Linked DNA regions of Homo sapiens: regions 1, 2, 3 and 5 are each linked to region 4. Evidence: promoter capture Hi-C in human tissues and cell types (Jung and others, 2019). All regions are on one chromosome and are shown on one strand. The core of a region is centred on a gene start or on the middle of the fragment in contact, and the rest is flanking DNA. Distances in the headings are between cores, read along the strand shown. Region 1 overlaps ZNF44 (zinc finger protein 44). Region 2 overlaps LOC124904638 (a long non-coding RNA gene). Region 3 holds the start of ZNF799 (zinc finger protein 799). Region 4 holds the start of ZNF700 (zinc finger protein 700). Region 5 overlaps ZNF442 (zinc finger protein 442).

Region 1 (2,700 bases), core at 23-2,522, 350 kb before region 4:
GAACTTGTCCTTAAGGCACAGATGGCCCATGCTATTGTTTGTGGTTCAGGAACGCCTTAAGCAGTTTTCCACCCTGGGTGGGCCAGGTGTTCCTTGCCCTCATTCCGGTAAACCAACAACCTTCAGCATGTGCGTCATAGCCATCACGAGCATGTCACAGTGCTGCAGAGATTTTGTTTATGGCTAGATTTGGGGGCCTGTTCCCAACACCTTGGCCTCCCAAAGTACTGGGATTACAGGTGTGAGCCACCACACCTGGCCTTCTAATGTATGTCTTAGTCATCTTGTGTTGTCCTAGGTGGTTGCACACTTTTTGTGTATTTTACAACATTTTAAAGTAGTTCCTGCCCAGTTTGACTCTGATTGGATTCTGTTGTAGATGAAATAGAAAAGAGAGCCTTGTTTCAGACCTTCGGTTAGTCCCCAGACTGATTCAAAAATACAAAGGCAATAATGTGGAAACAAAATGTGATCTGTACACTCTGTGGTGATCAGAGTTCTACACTGGGAACTCTGCTGTCTTCAGGACTGGCAATGAGATGGGCAGAGATGGGGCCAAAGAAAAAACAATACAAGGCTTTTCTATCATTTTTCACTTTCCTGTTTATGTATCTTTTTCTCTCTGTTAATAGTATGGGATGTGAAAAATTACAGTTTTAAATCTTCTGTTTGTTTTTGTAAAGCTGTCTACTTTCTTGATGAGAAGGTTTTTTTTAAGCATCTTTAGACATTTATGACTTCTATAAAAATTGGTTTATGTAATGTTATTGATTATTAAATGTCTGCTGTTGAGATTTATGGAATATAATTGATATTCATGAAAGCTGACACTGAATTCTGTCTAAGAACATTTGCAGTCTGTCCTCTTCTTTTCTTTCTCCTTCGACATTACCCAGTAGAAAGTTACAATTTTTTCTATTTAGTTGGTAAAATCTCTTTTATTAGTCTTTTGTCATACTTAACTACATTTGATCTACAGGGAACCAGTCACCAGCTTCCAAATATTCTCTCTGTGTAATCACGTAGGATAGGCTAAATCCCCCAAGTAAGACATTGAAAAAACAACAACAACAAAAATATGAAATATCATCTACCAGAGTTGCACATTAGGGACCCTGTGCCTAGAGTGTTTCTTTGTGTATGTCTTAGTCTATAAGACTGTTTTTTTGTTACTTACAACAGGATACCAGAACTGGGGTAATCTATAAGAAATGATATTTATTTTTTGCAGTTCTGAAAGCTGGGAAGATCAAGTAAGGTCAAAGTGGGCATCTGGTGGGAATCTTCTTGCTGATGGGGACTCTGTAGAGTCCCTGGGTGGTACAGGGCATTACATGATGAGGGGGCTGAGTGTCTAGCTGAAGTATCTTCCTCTTCTCATAAGGACACCAGAACCTCATCTGTGATAACCAGTTTATTTATTAAGCCATTCATACATGAGTGGATTAATCCATCCATGTGTTCCAAACCCTCAAGACCCACTCACCTCTTAAACCACTACCTTTGATTACTTCCACATTGGAGATTCAGTTTCAGCCTGCATTTTGGAGGGGAAGACATTCAAACCTAGCAGTGGCTGATTGGGTACACTTCCTCTGCTGAGGATGTAATACAATTCCAAACTCTCAGAGGGAAGTTAGGAGTTAAGCAAATACCATAATTTTTACACAAATAGTTTAGGCACACTCCACCCCCTTTATTAGTTATGCTTACGGGGCCCTCCCCTAAATACATTGTCTAGACACCACGAAAGGTTCAACATTGTGAACAAGCAGTTGTAAGGATATGCCGTCTCAGGACTGCTAATTGTAACTCTCTTTTGCACAGTAGGTGGTAGGACTTTGTCATGACAAGGACTACAGACCCACTGTAGAAACAGACATTAGGAGTAATCCAGGCAATAAGATTCACTTGCATAATTCACCAATAAGAGATATGTTCCTACTCAACTGTTATTTTAGCAAGCCCAATTCCAGCATCAGAATTCCAGCATCAGACAGTGAGTGCAGACACAGAATAAGAGTGGATTTACCACGTCATTGAATAAATGCTTGGAAACCACAGCATCATGGGAAGTTTATGAAGGTGAGTATAGGTTCTCAGTACTGTGAGTTTCAACCTTCCTTTTCTGGACATATGGGATGTTTCAGGACTCAGTGGCCTTTGAGGATGTGGCTGTGAACTTCACCCATGAGGAGTGGGCTTTGCTGGGTCCATCACAGAAGAATCTCTACAGAGATGTGATGCGAGAAACCATTAGGAACCTGAACTGTATAGGTATGGATGACATCATGTCTTCATTTGGTCAATTAGAGACATTTGTTTTGTGGTCATCAATGCTGTTCAGTGATTTGAAATATGGAAAAGGGATACAGTTCATTCCTGAACAACACAGGGTGAAGTGCCAGGCCCCAACCTGTTGTATGTCCTCATATAATCTTTTGTCTGCCACAGCTTAACCTACTTTTGACCAGCAGCCTTATCAGTCATATAAACAAGTGACGAGCACATATATGTCATATGTATTGCATACTGTATTCTCAGAATAAAGTAAGTTAGAGAAAGTAAATTTTTTTTCTTTTTTTTTGAGATGGAGTCTTGCTCTGTCGCCCAGGCTGGAGTGCAGTGGCTCCATCTTGGCTCACTACAAGCTCCGCCTCCCGGGTTCACACCATTCTTGCCTCAGCCTCCTGAGTAGCT
Region 2 (2,700 bases), core at 10-2,509, 340 kb after region 4:
TAGCTGGGACTACAGATACACCCCACCATGCCTGGATAATTTTTTTAAACTTTTTGTAGAGACAGAGTCTTGCTATGTTGGCCAGGCTGGTCTTGAACTCCTAGGCTCAAGTGATCCTCCAACCGCAGCTTCCCAAAGTGTTGGGATTACAGGCATGAGTCACTGCACCTGGCCTCCATCCCTATTTAAAACAAAAAAAGAAAAAAGAAAGAAAGAAAACCAAACCAAACCAAAAAAAAACGTTGTCACGGATGACCTTGGCCGGAGGGTAAGCAGTTGGTGGTGCAGGAGGCATTGCTGACGATCATGAGGTTTTTGTATCTCTCATGGTTCATGTCCATCACAAACATGGGGGCATGGGCAGAGGGGGCAGAGATGGTGATCCCTTTGGCTGCCCATCCTAAGCGAGCCCCAGCCTTCCCCATGGTCGTGAAGATGCTGCTGGTGGACTCCATGACATAACCAGTGCCAGCATCGTCACCCAATTTGATTTTGCTGGGATCTGGCTTCTAGAAGATGGGGATGAGATTCCCATTTCCTATTGATGACAAGCTTCCCTTCTCTTTCTCAGTCTTTTCTTTTCTTTTTTTTTTTTTTTAAGAGAGAGAGGATCTCCCTATGTTGCCTAGGCTGGTCCTGAACTCCTGGTCTCAAGTGATCCTCCCACCTCAACCTCCTAAGTAGCTGAGATTACAAGCATGAGCCACCACACCCAGCCCACTTCTCAGCTTTGATGGTGCCGCGGAACTTGCCGTGGGTAGAATCATATTGGAACATGTAGACCATGTAGTTGAGGTCAATGAAGGGGTCATTGAGGTGACAACATCCATTCTGCCAGAGTTAAAAGCAGCTCTGGTGCCCTGGTGACCAGGCACCCAATATGGCCAAATCCATTTACTCCTGTCTTCACTTTCACCACGGTGTCTCGGGGACATGCCTTTTTCACTGCATGAAAAGATGTGGCTGTCTGTCAAATGGGAGGAGCAGAGAGGCTCTGCCTTTTTAATCTTTAAGAAAAAAAATTCAGGCTGGGCATGGTGGCTCACGCCTGTAATCCCAGCACCTTGGGAGGCCAAGGCAGGCGGATCACAAGGTCAGGAGATCCAGACCATCCTTACTAACATGGTGAAACCCCGTCTCTACTAAAAAATACAAAAAATTAGCTGGGCGTGGTGGCGGGCACCTGTAGTCCCAGCTACTTGGGAGGCTGAGGCAGGAGAATGGCGTGAACCCGGGAGGCGGAGCTTGCAGTGAGCCAAGATCGCGCCACTGCACTCCAGCCTGGGTGATGGAGCAAGACTCTGTCTCAAATAATAATAATAATAATAATTTAGATGGGGTCTCACTGTGTCACCCAGGCTTGTCTCAAACTCCTGGGCTCCAGTGATCCACCCACCTCAACCTCCCAAAGTGCTGGGATTACAGGTGTGAGCCACCACACCCGGCCTATTATTATTATTTGAGACAGTCTTGCTCTTGTCGCCCAGGCTGGAGTGCAGTGGCACGATCTTGGCTCACTGCAACCTCTGCTTCCCGGGTTCAAGCGATTCTCCTGCCTCAGCCTCCCGAGTAGCTGGGATTACAGGTGGCTGCCACCACGCCCAGCTAATTTTTTTTGTATTTTTAGTAGAGATGGGGTTTCACCTTGTTGGTCAGGCTGGTCTCAAACACCTGACCTCAGGTGATCCGCCCACCTCAGCCTCCCAAAGTGCTGGGATTACAGGCGTGAGCCACTGCTCCTGGCCCTGTCTTTTAATTTTTAAAGGGTAGGGGGCACCATGACCCATCTTTGCCCACCTAAACCACCTATTCAGCAGCCCATGCCCCGCAGCCCACAGCTGGGGGACATCATGCAAAATCTAAGTCAGATCTGTCCCTCTGATCAGAACCCTCTGTGGCTCCCACCTTACCCAGATAAAAGCCCCCTTCCCTGCAGCCCCCAAGAGCACACGCAACCTGCCCCACCCACACCCTTCTCTGTTCCTTGCCCTTGACCTTGCAGACTCAACCTTCCGGATTCACTTCCCCCTTGCTCACTCTGCTCCAGCCACAAAAGCCAATTTTTGGTTCCTCAAATCAAACTAACTCATGACAGCATTTTGAATTTTGAAGCCTTGGGGCCCCGAAAAAGTCCATCTTTTTTTTTTTTTTTTAAGATCGAGTCTCACTGTGTTGCCCAGGCTGGAGTGCGGTGGTGTGATCTCGACTCACTGCAACCTCTGCCTCCCTGGTTCAAGCAATTCTCCGGCCTCAGCCTCCCAAGTAGCTGGGATTACAGGTGCTCGCTGCCATGCCCAGCTAATTTTTTTGTATTTTAGTAGAGAAAGGGTTTCACCTTGTTGCCTAGGCTGATCTTGAACTCCTGAACTCAGGCAATCTGTCTGCCTCAGCCTCCCAAAGTGCTGGGATTACAGGCGTGAGCCACTGCGCCCGGCCCAAAAATCCATCTTTGTGGGTTCCTTTGTAAATGTGTAGTCAATTTAGAAATTTAGAAACACGGTTTCCCTTAAGCCTTTATTTAGTTACAATCACAACTAACATGTTACTTATACACCTGGCAAAGTGAAACATCAAAAAATTAATTCAGGGCCTGGCCTCAGGCCTGTAATCCCAGCACTTTGGGATGCCAAGGCAGACGGATCACTTGAGGTCAGGAGAATCGCTTGAACCTGGGAGACGGAGGTTGGGACGAGCTGAAGA
Region 3 (2,700 bases), core at 3-2,502, 480 kb before region 4:
CCTGTAAGATCTGGAACACAATAAGAATGCCCACTTTTACCACTGTTGTTCAGCACAGTACTCGAAGTCCCAGCTAGAGCAATAAGTCCAAAAAAAAAAAAAAAAAGAAATAAAGGGCATCTATATTGGGAAGGAAAGGAAGAAGTCAAATTATCCTGGTTTGCATATAATATGATCTTATATCTGGAAATACCTAAAGACTCCACCAAAAAAGTATTAGAACTGAGAAATAAATTCAGTAAAGTTGCAGGATACAATATTAACATACAAAAATCAGTAACATTTTTATATGCCAACAGTGAACAATCTGAAGCTACTTGAGAGGCTGAGGTGGGAGGATTGCTTGAGCTTGGGAGGTAGAGGTTGCAGTGAGCCATGATGGCCCCACTGCACTCCAGCCTAGGCAACAGAGCAAGACCCCATCTCAAACAACCAAAAACGTGTAGAAGGATGGTTACCACAGGCTGGGAAAAGTAGTAGCGAGGAGTAGTTATGGGGGAAGTGGGGATGGTTAATAGGTATAAAAAATAGTTACAAAGAATGAATAAGACCTAGTATTTGCTAGCACAACAGAGTGACTATAGTAAAAAATAATTTAATTGTACATTGAAATATTTTGAAAAATTTCATTGAAAAAGAGTATAATTGGAGCCAGGCGCGATGGCTCACGTCTCTAATCCCAGAACTTTGGGAGGCCAAGGTGGGCGGATCACGAGGTCAGGAGTTCGAGACCAGCCTGGCCAACATGGTGAAACCCGGCCTCTACTAAAACATACAAAAATTAGCCGGGTGTGGTGGCGCGCACCTGTAATCCCAGCTACTCGGGAGGCTGAGGCAGAATTGTTTGAACCCACCTAGGAGGCGGAGGTCGCAGTGAGCCTCGCACCATTGCACTCTAGCCTGAGCCACGGAGCAAGACTCCCTCTCTCTCTCTCTCTCTCTCTCTCTCTCTCGGAAAAAAAAAAAAAAAAAAAAAAAAAAGTATAATTGTTTTGTCAGTCAGTGTACAGGAGGAAGAAGCAGGAGGTCCTATTGAGTACAGGCAGGAAATTCCGCTTAAGTGCAAATATCCCTCGGGAGGATTCAGATCAAAGAGCAGGGAGGAAGCCCGCCCTGCCAAGGGCTGTGTCAGGAACTTGCTCATCTGGCTCCACTCAGCTGTGCAAGATCGCTTCTTCTGTCAATCAGTCCACGAGGGGCGGCACCTGACGCCGTATCCAGTAAGGGCCGTGGGGCGGGTTCGTGGGAACTGTCAATCAGGCGCGCTTCCCAGAGGAGTGTGTGGTTGAAAAAGCCCGCGGCGTCTTCTCCACCCACCTGCGCTGGGCGCTCGGTGCTCGGCTCTGTAGCTAAGAGACGACCTGGAAGTTCCGTGGCAGCCTGTGTCCCGCGGGAACCCGCATTGGCAGCGGGAGCCGTCCGGAGGACCTGGGACACCGCGGAAGTCGGGAAATGGTGCGTGTGCTGGGCCGGCGTCCCGAGGCGGGGGAGGGGCTGGGTGGAACCTGCAGTAATCGGCTGTGGCTGGACCCGGGCCTCCCCAAGGGCTACTCCGGGATCTACGGACCCGGGTTCCCCTGGCGTAGGTCGGCCCTCGGCCGCAGGGTGGGGCTGGGCATGCAGCCGGGACCCCGGGCGTCCTGTCCCGTTCCTGCGCGGCGACTGCGGCCCCGGCGCCCTCTCTGGGCAGCTCCGCGCCCGCAGCCTCGCGTCTCCCGAGATTGTGCGGCTGTAAGCAACACAGGTTCGCGGCCCGACTCACTGCACCGAGACGCTGAGGGCTGCAGCAGAAACAGTTTAATAGCCAGAGAGGGGAGGACACCCCAGATCCGCCTCCCTGAGGGATTTGGGGTCTGGACGGGGGCGGCTGGGTGTAGGGTCGTTGGTTGGTGGGGAAGTGAGGGGTGAATCCTGGGACAGGAGGTGAAGAAACCGCATTCTGCTGAATGGGCTCCCTCGTTGGGACTTCAACCTGATTGGCGCCAGCCTTTGCTGGGATTCAGGATCTGAGAACTCCGGCGACTCTTGAGCAGTTCTCAGAGATCTTATCCCCAGGCACAATGGGGAAGCCGGCGGTCAGCGTCTGCTGTGACCTGACTCTCAGGGAGGCGGCCCCTTGAGGCAGCGGGGCTGAGGGCACCTGGTTAATATCTAACTGCAATCTCGCCTCCAGCCTGGCTCGCAGTTCCTGTGAACCCGGTGAGGAGGCTGCACGGTGACGACGAGTCACCAGGTGGAATCCAGACTCGTGTGTGGGGTTTGTGTGTGGGAGGAGCTGTGGTCTCCGTGGTCCTCAGTCCCTTCTTTCTTTCCAAGGGCGACCGTTTCCCCTCTGAGTCTTCCAAAGATGTGGTTAGCAGGGTCTCAAATCCACCACTGTGTTCTCTCATCCTGACTCCTCCTAGGGCTGGCAGCAAATCTCTTGGTTTCCAGAGACTTCCCCAGGCTAACCTTCTGTCCTTAATTCACAGCAACGGTATGAACTGTTTGGCCCCCAGGCGATATTTCACTAGTTTGTCATCTTGTTTTCAGCTAGCAATGTATGGCTTTTTCTTGAAAGAATTATTTTGGGTTCCTGAACACGGTGGGTCATTCCTGTAATTCCAGCACCTTGGGAGGCTAAGGCAGAGGTATTGCTTAATCTTAGTAGTTCCAGACCAGCCTGGGCAACATGGCAAGACCTTGTCTCTAGTATAAATG
Region 4 (2,750 bases), core at 2-2,501:
ACAGGACCCGCAAAAAACCCTGAAAATTGAGTGCCTCTGTATGACAGGATGGGAGGTGAGACAGGTCTCCTTATACCCTCTCCCACACATTCATGTAAAAATAGATAGAATGGAAAAACAGACTGCTTGTGGCAAGAAGATACTAACTTACAAACAAAACCTAAGGCCACGCAAGGCAAAAGTAAAGTCACGCCTCAGAATTCATAAAATCTAGAGAAACAGGTCTGTTTTCTGGCTGGGATGGAATCAAGTGGCAGATAACAGACCCCCTTCCTTCCTACCTCCTCCAAACTTTAGACAAACTTCACACTCTCAACCAGCTGCCACCTACAGAATCCCTCAACCACCTGTGCCTTCTAACCCCCCTTCCACAGGTCCCACCCTTTCTGCCAATGGAACTTACACCTTTCAGGCACTGATTCATCATTTTCCCTGCAATTCCTGTCTCTCTGAAATGAATAAAACCAAACTGTCTTGAGCCGCCTCGGGACCACTTACTCCAGGCTGCTTGGGGTTGTGTTTCCCTCGGCCAAGGTCTCTCCTATTCGGCTCTGAATAAACTTCTTTATTTTACATAGTTTGGCTTTTTCCGTTGACAAACCACAACCCAGGACGGGGTGTTTCTCATTCGTGAATCGCTGTTTGCTCAAATGAACTCTTTAATTGTTAACGTACCTCAGTTTAATTTTTAACAGGAGAAAGTGGGGACTGGGGGCCCCACAGACCACTGCTCCTCCCACGCACGAACCCCACACCCGAGTCAGGATGCCTCCATGACCCTCCCGTTGCTTCCGCACAATCTGGGGAGACGCGGGGCTGCGGGAGCGGAACTGCCCAGAGAGGGCTCCGGGGCAGGGGCCGCGGCCGCAGTCGCCGCGCAGGGACGGGACAGGACGCCCGGGTCCTGGCTGCTGGCCCAGCCCCGTCCAGCGGCCAAGGGGACCGAGGGCCGAACTGCTCAAGGAGGACTCGGTCCCAGACCCCGGAGTCGCCCACAGGGAGGCCCGGGTCCCGCCACAGCCGGTTCCCGCCTGTTCCAGGCAGCCCCTCCCCCGTCTCACGACATCTGGTCCCGCACACGCACCATTTCCCGGCTTTCAGATGTACCGGGGTCCTCTCTACAGCTCCTGTGACTACAGCAGGGCATAGCGCAGGCGACAGAGCGACAGAAGCCTGGGTACAGGCACCAGGTCCCTCTCGGGCTGGTCTGACCGGTTACCAACCGCCGCCCGCGCAGCGAGGAAGGTGAGGAAAGCGACCCCCTCCATTTCCGGATGAACTGTGGGCAGTGCCACGCCCCAGCACCTCTGATTGGATGAAATACTAGGTCCCGCCCCCCACATCTGAGTGACAGCTGAAGCCCTGGGTATCAGGCCCCGCAGAGCCAGACTGACGGATTCTAGCCACAGCTTCTCTAAGGGCGAGCTGCTTTCTGCACTCTGGTTATTGGATATTTGCATTTCAGCCAAACTTGCTATTGATAGAAGAGAACACTAGCGTCATCCTCACTCAAGGGACAGTCCCCGCTCCTTCGTTCTGCACGGGGTCACAGGAGTGTGCAGGGAATTTCAGACTCAGTGTCCATAGGAGCCAACTGCTGGCCTCAGAGCAGCAGGGGAACCGAGACCAGGCCAGGCACGACTGCACCAGGAGGAGAGGCATATGTCCTCGAGCGGGCCGGAATTGGGGATGAGGCGTGGCCAAGCCTTGCTCACACACCCCCATCCCCTTGTGAAAATGCTTCCTCCTTTCAGATCTTCATTTTCACCAGCAGGAAACTCTCACCAGGTTTTGTTTCTGACCTAAGTAAACTGTCAACTTCATGAACCCTTTATCCAGGTGACGCCACCAAACAATTCTGTCTCTAGCTCTAGCCTGATCTTCACACATTTTCTTTTCTTTCTTTCTTTTTTTTTTTTTTTTTTTGAGACGGAGTCTTGCTCTGTAGCCCAGGCTGGAGTGCAGTGGTGCGATCTCGACTCACTGCAAGCTCCGCCTCCCGAGTTCACGCCATTCTCTTACCTCGGCCTCCGGAGTAGCTGGGATTAAAGGCGCCCGCCACCACGCCCGGCTAATATTTTGTATTTTCAGTGGAGACGGGGTTTCACCGTGTTAGCCAGGATGGTCTCGATCTTCTGACCTCTTGATCCGCCCGCCTCGGCCCCGCAAAGTGCTGGGATTACAGGCGTGAGCCACCGCGCCCGGCCACACATTTTCTTTATCTATACAAATAACTCTGACCCCAACGACCCCATGCATGTCAAACCCCAAACCCTGCCCAGAAGACAGCTCCAGAGGTACAACACCAGAAAGGACAGAGACGCCACAAATGCGTCTGCACATGGGTCTTCTGCTTTCCAGGGCTCTGCAGCTTCTCGGAATCCACACCCTTTCTGGAGCTGCTCTGAGCAGCTGGAGGCCACTTGTAGAAGGGGGTGGGCTGCCCGCGAAGCCCCCAGGGAAACTCTCTTTCCCTCCCTTTGCAGGCTGCAGAGACTGTCCTCAACGTGGAATCACTGGCCTTGGGCTCTGCTGCCCCCTGCAGGTTATTCAGCTACTTCTCACCCCATCGATTAGTTTCGCGAGACAAACACCTTCAATCCCATTGTGTAAATAAGACACCAGCAGAGTCCCTGCTCTCCTCCTATGCTTATGTATAAAGTGGGGGAGGAAAAATCTAAGATAACTTAAGGGCATTTGAAAGACTTCCAGATCGCGGTGGAGGTGGCAGCTGAGGGACTCGCAGTCAA
Region 5 (2,700 bases), core at 68-2,567, 420 kb before region 4:
AGACCTCCACGATGTTGCCTAGAGGGCAGTGTTACCCTTTGAACTACCAACATTAACCACTGGAACTGCTCATCTGGAAGCCTCTTACAGTGCTGGTACAAACTAGAATACACAAAGGAAGGGATCATTTTATACGTGTTACTGTGCTACTTGCTCTATCTACTTAGTGTTCCATACATGTAATTACCTATTCCATCCTATCCCAAAGTACTGAAAATCTCCATTCTACTTTCTCTGTCTGTGAATTTGACTATTCATAGAGAGAGAGATATGTGGAAGTATGCATGTGTCCTTCCATGTCTGGCTTATTTCACTTAGAACGTTTTCAAGGTTTATCCATGTGGTAGCATGTATCAGGAACTCATTGTTTTTGTGTCTGAATAAATTTCCACTGTATGGTTAAAGCATACTTTGTTTATCCATTTTTATGTTGATAAACATGGGTTGTTTCCACAGTAATAATTTGACTGCTATCAATAAGGCTGCTGTGGATGTGGTATGTCTATGTCTGTGTGAGTCCCTGCTTTCAATTCTTTTGGATATATGTATCCCTAGGAGTGTAATTGCTGGTTCACAGAATAATTGGTGTAAACCTTTTTCAGGAACAGGTATATTGCTTTACAAAGTGGCTACAATGTTTTACATTCTCTCCAGCAATGCATAAGGGTTTCTATTTTCCACATTGTCACATATACTGGTTGTCGTATTTTTTTCATAATAGCCAATTAATGGTTCTGTACTGCTTTTTCATTGTGGTTTTGATTTGCATTTCCCTAATGACCAATAATAATGCACATTGGTTTTTGTTTTTGTTGGTTGTTTATATATTTTTTGAACCAGTTTGTTTTAAAATCCTTTGCTCATTAAAATTGAGTCATTTGTGTTTTGTTGTTGAGTTATAGGAATTCTTATTTAAAATTTTTAGTTTTTAATATTTAGAAAATTTCTTTCTTTTTTCAGCTCCCAAGTGCTTGGAAGAGAGTTGTAGGAATTCTTTATACACTGTGGGTATTAAGCCCTTATTTGATATGTGATATGCAGATGTGTTCTCCCTTTCTGTAGGTTTTCTTTTCATCTTGAGATTGTCCTTTGGTGCGCAAAAGTTTTTAATTTCGATGTAGTCCAGTTTATCTTTTATTGGTTGTCTGTGCCTTAAATGTCGTATCCAATAAATCACTGCCAAATTTAACAAAATTTTCCCCTATGTTTTCTGCTAAGTAATTTTTTTTTCTCCCTCTGTCACCCAGGCTGGAGTGCAGAGGCATGATCTTGACTTACTGCAACCTCCACCTCAGGTTCAAGTGATTCTCATGCCTCAGCCTCCCAAGTAGTCAAGTAGCTGGGATTATAGGCACCCACCACCACGCCTGTCTAAATTTTGTATTTTTAGTAGGGACAGAGTTTAACCATGTTGGCCAGGCTGGTCTCCAATTCCTGACCTCAAGTGATCTGCTCGGCCTCCCAAAGTGCTGGGATTACAGCCATGAGCCACTGTACCCAGGCTCTTCTAAGTATTTTATAGTTTTAGCTTTTAAGTATAGGTCTTTGATTAAATATAAGTTACTATTTATACATGATGTAATGTGATGGTTCACTTTTATTATTTGCATGTAGATATCCAGTTTTCCCAACACCATTTTTTGAAAGATTGTCCTTCTACCAAAGAACGGTCTTGGCACTGTTGTCAAAAATCATTTCACCCTGTATATGAGCATTTATTTCTAGGCTGTCTACTCTATTCCATTGGCCTATCTGTTTGTCTTTATGCCAGTACCATACTGTTTTGATCACTGTAGCTTTGTAGTAAGTTTTGAAATAAGGCAGTGTGAATTCTTCAACATTGTTCTTTTTCAAGATTGTTTTGGTATTAGAGATCCCTAGAGATTTGAAGTGAATTTTAGAATAGGCTTTTCTATTTCTGTATAAGAAGCTGTTAGGATTTCTATAGGGATCACATTGATTCTGTAGATTGATTTTGGTAGTATTTTAATCTTAGCAATAGTAAGTCTTGGAATCCATGAACATGGGATATCTTTCCATTCATTTATCTTCCTTAATTTGCTTCAAGAATGTTTTGTAGTTTTCAATGTACACATCACTGATTTCTTGGTTTCATTTATTTTTAAGTGTTTTACTTTTTTTGATGCTTTTATAACTAAAATTATTTTCTTAATTTTCTTTTTGGATTGTTTATTCATTGTTAGTCTATTGTTTATTCATTGTTAGCAGCTGATTTTTGTGTATTGATTTTATATTCTGCAACATTGCTGCATTTGTTTTATAAGCTGTAAAATTTTATTTTTCCCTTGTGGAGTCTTCAGTGTTTTCTCCACATAGAATCATGTAATCTGTAAACACAGATAATTTTACTTCTTTCTCTCCAATTTGGATTCCTTTTATTTCTTTTTCTTACCTTATTTCTGTAGCTATAACTTCCATTAGTATGTTGAATAGAACTGTTGAAAGTGGGCATCCTGTCTTCTTGATATTAGAGGGAAGGCTTTCAGTCTTTCAAATTGACCATGTTACCTACAGGTTTTTCATATGTGACTTTTTTCCTATTAAGGAAGTTTCTTTCCATTCCTGGTTTATCAAATGTATTTTTTAAAAGGAACATAAGGTATTTAATTTTGTCAAATTATTTTTCTGTATCATTTGAGATGATAAATGTGTTTTTTGCCTTTTCTTCGTTAATGTGGT

What was found. The method cuts DNA at HindIII sites, captures the fragments that hold promoters and counts their contacts. A contact is called where the count stands out against the background at its distance.
Region 1: a fragment that was not itself captured here is called in contact with the fragment with the promoter of ZNF700 in region 4 in 2 of the 25 tissues and cell types used here (lymphoblastoid cells and mesenchymal stem cells).
Region 2: a fragment that was not itself captured here is called in contact with the fragment with the promoter of ZNF700 in region 4 in 1 of the 25 tissues and cell types used here (lymphoblastoid cells).
Region 3: the fragment with the promoter of ZNF799 here is called in contact with the fragment with the promoter of ZNF700 in region 4 in 3 of the 25 tissues and cell types used here (heart left ventricle, mesenchymal stem cells and spleen).
Region 5: a contact is called between a fragment that was not itself captured here and the fragment with the promoter of ZNF700 in region 4, in 4 of the 25 tissues and cell types used here (bladder, dorsolateral prefrontal cortex, hippocampus and 1 more).

What each region holds. Positions count from the first base shown.
Region 1 is chr19:12,275,533-12,278,232 of GRCh38, reverse strand. ZNF44 (zinc finger protein 44) reads left to right here. Exons shown (of 4, transcript NM_016264.4): 2 at 2,151-2,277. Among named protein-coding and RNA genes, the nearest start is that of ZNF44, 18 kb to the left of the region's middle. The HindIII fragment of the contact is 9,813 bases long and covers 1-2,700 here.
Region 2 is chr19:11,583,465-11,586,164 of GRCh38, reverse strand. It overlaps LOC124904638 (a long non-coding RNA gene), which reads right to left. Exons shown (of 2, transcript XR_007067140.1): 2 at 2,501-2,700. It also overlaps the pseudogene GAPDHP76. Among named protein-coding and RNA genes, the nearest start is that of ACP5, 7.2 kb to the right of the region's middle. RefSeq lists enhancers at 2,071-2,130, 2,141-2,280. The HindIII fragment of the contact is 7,524 bases long and covers 1-2,700 here.
Region 3 is chr19:12,399,823-12,402,522 of GRCh38, reverse strand. ZNF799 (zinc finger protein 799) reads left to right here and starts at 1,252. Exons shown (of 4, transcript NM_001080821.3): 1 at 1,252-1,455. The coding sequence starts at 1,453. RefSeq lists enhancers at 1,098-1,147, 1,868-1,957 and a silencer at 1,478-1,637. The HindIII fragment of the contact is 18,323 bases long and covers 1-2,700 here.
Region 4 is chr19:11,923,608-11,926,357 of GRCh38, reverse strand. It overlaps ZNF700 (zinc finger protein 700), which reads right to left and starts at 1,251. Exons shown (of 4, transcript NM_144566.3): 1 at 1,085-1,251. The coding sequence starts at 1,147. It also overlaps a transcript of ZNF69 not described here. RefSeq lists a silencer at 789-988 and enhancers at 1,379-1,488, 1,539-1,588, 1,036-1,608, 1,765-2,554, 2,555-2,750. The HindIII fragment of the contact is 4,963 bases long and covers 1-2,750 here.
Region 5 is chr19:12,344,438-12,347,137 of GRCh38, reverse strand. ZNF442 (zinc finger protein 442) reads left to right here. Exons shown (of 6, transcript NM_030824.3): 6 at 1-1,194. It also overlaps a transcript of ZNF563 not described here. Among named protein-coding and RNA genes, the nearest start is that of ZNF563, 12 kb to the right of the region's middle. The HindIII fragment of the contact is 8,186 bases long and covers 1-2,700 here.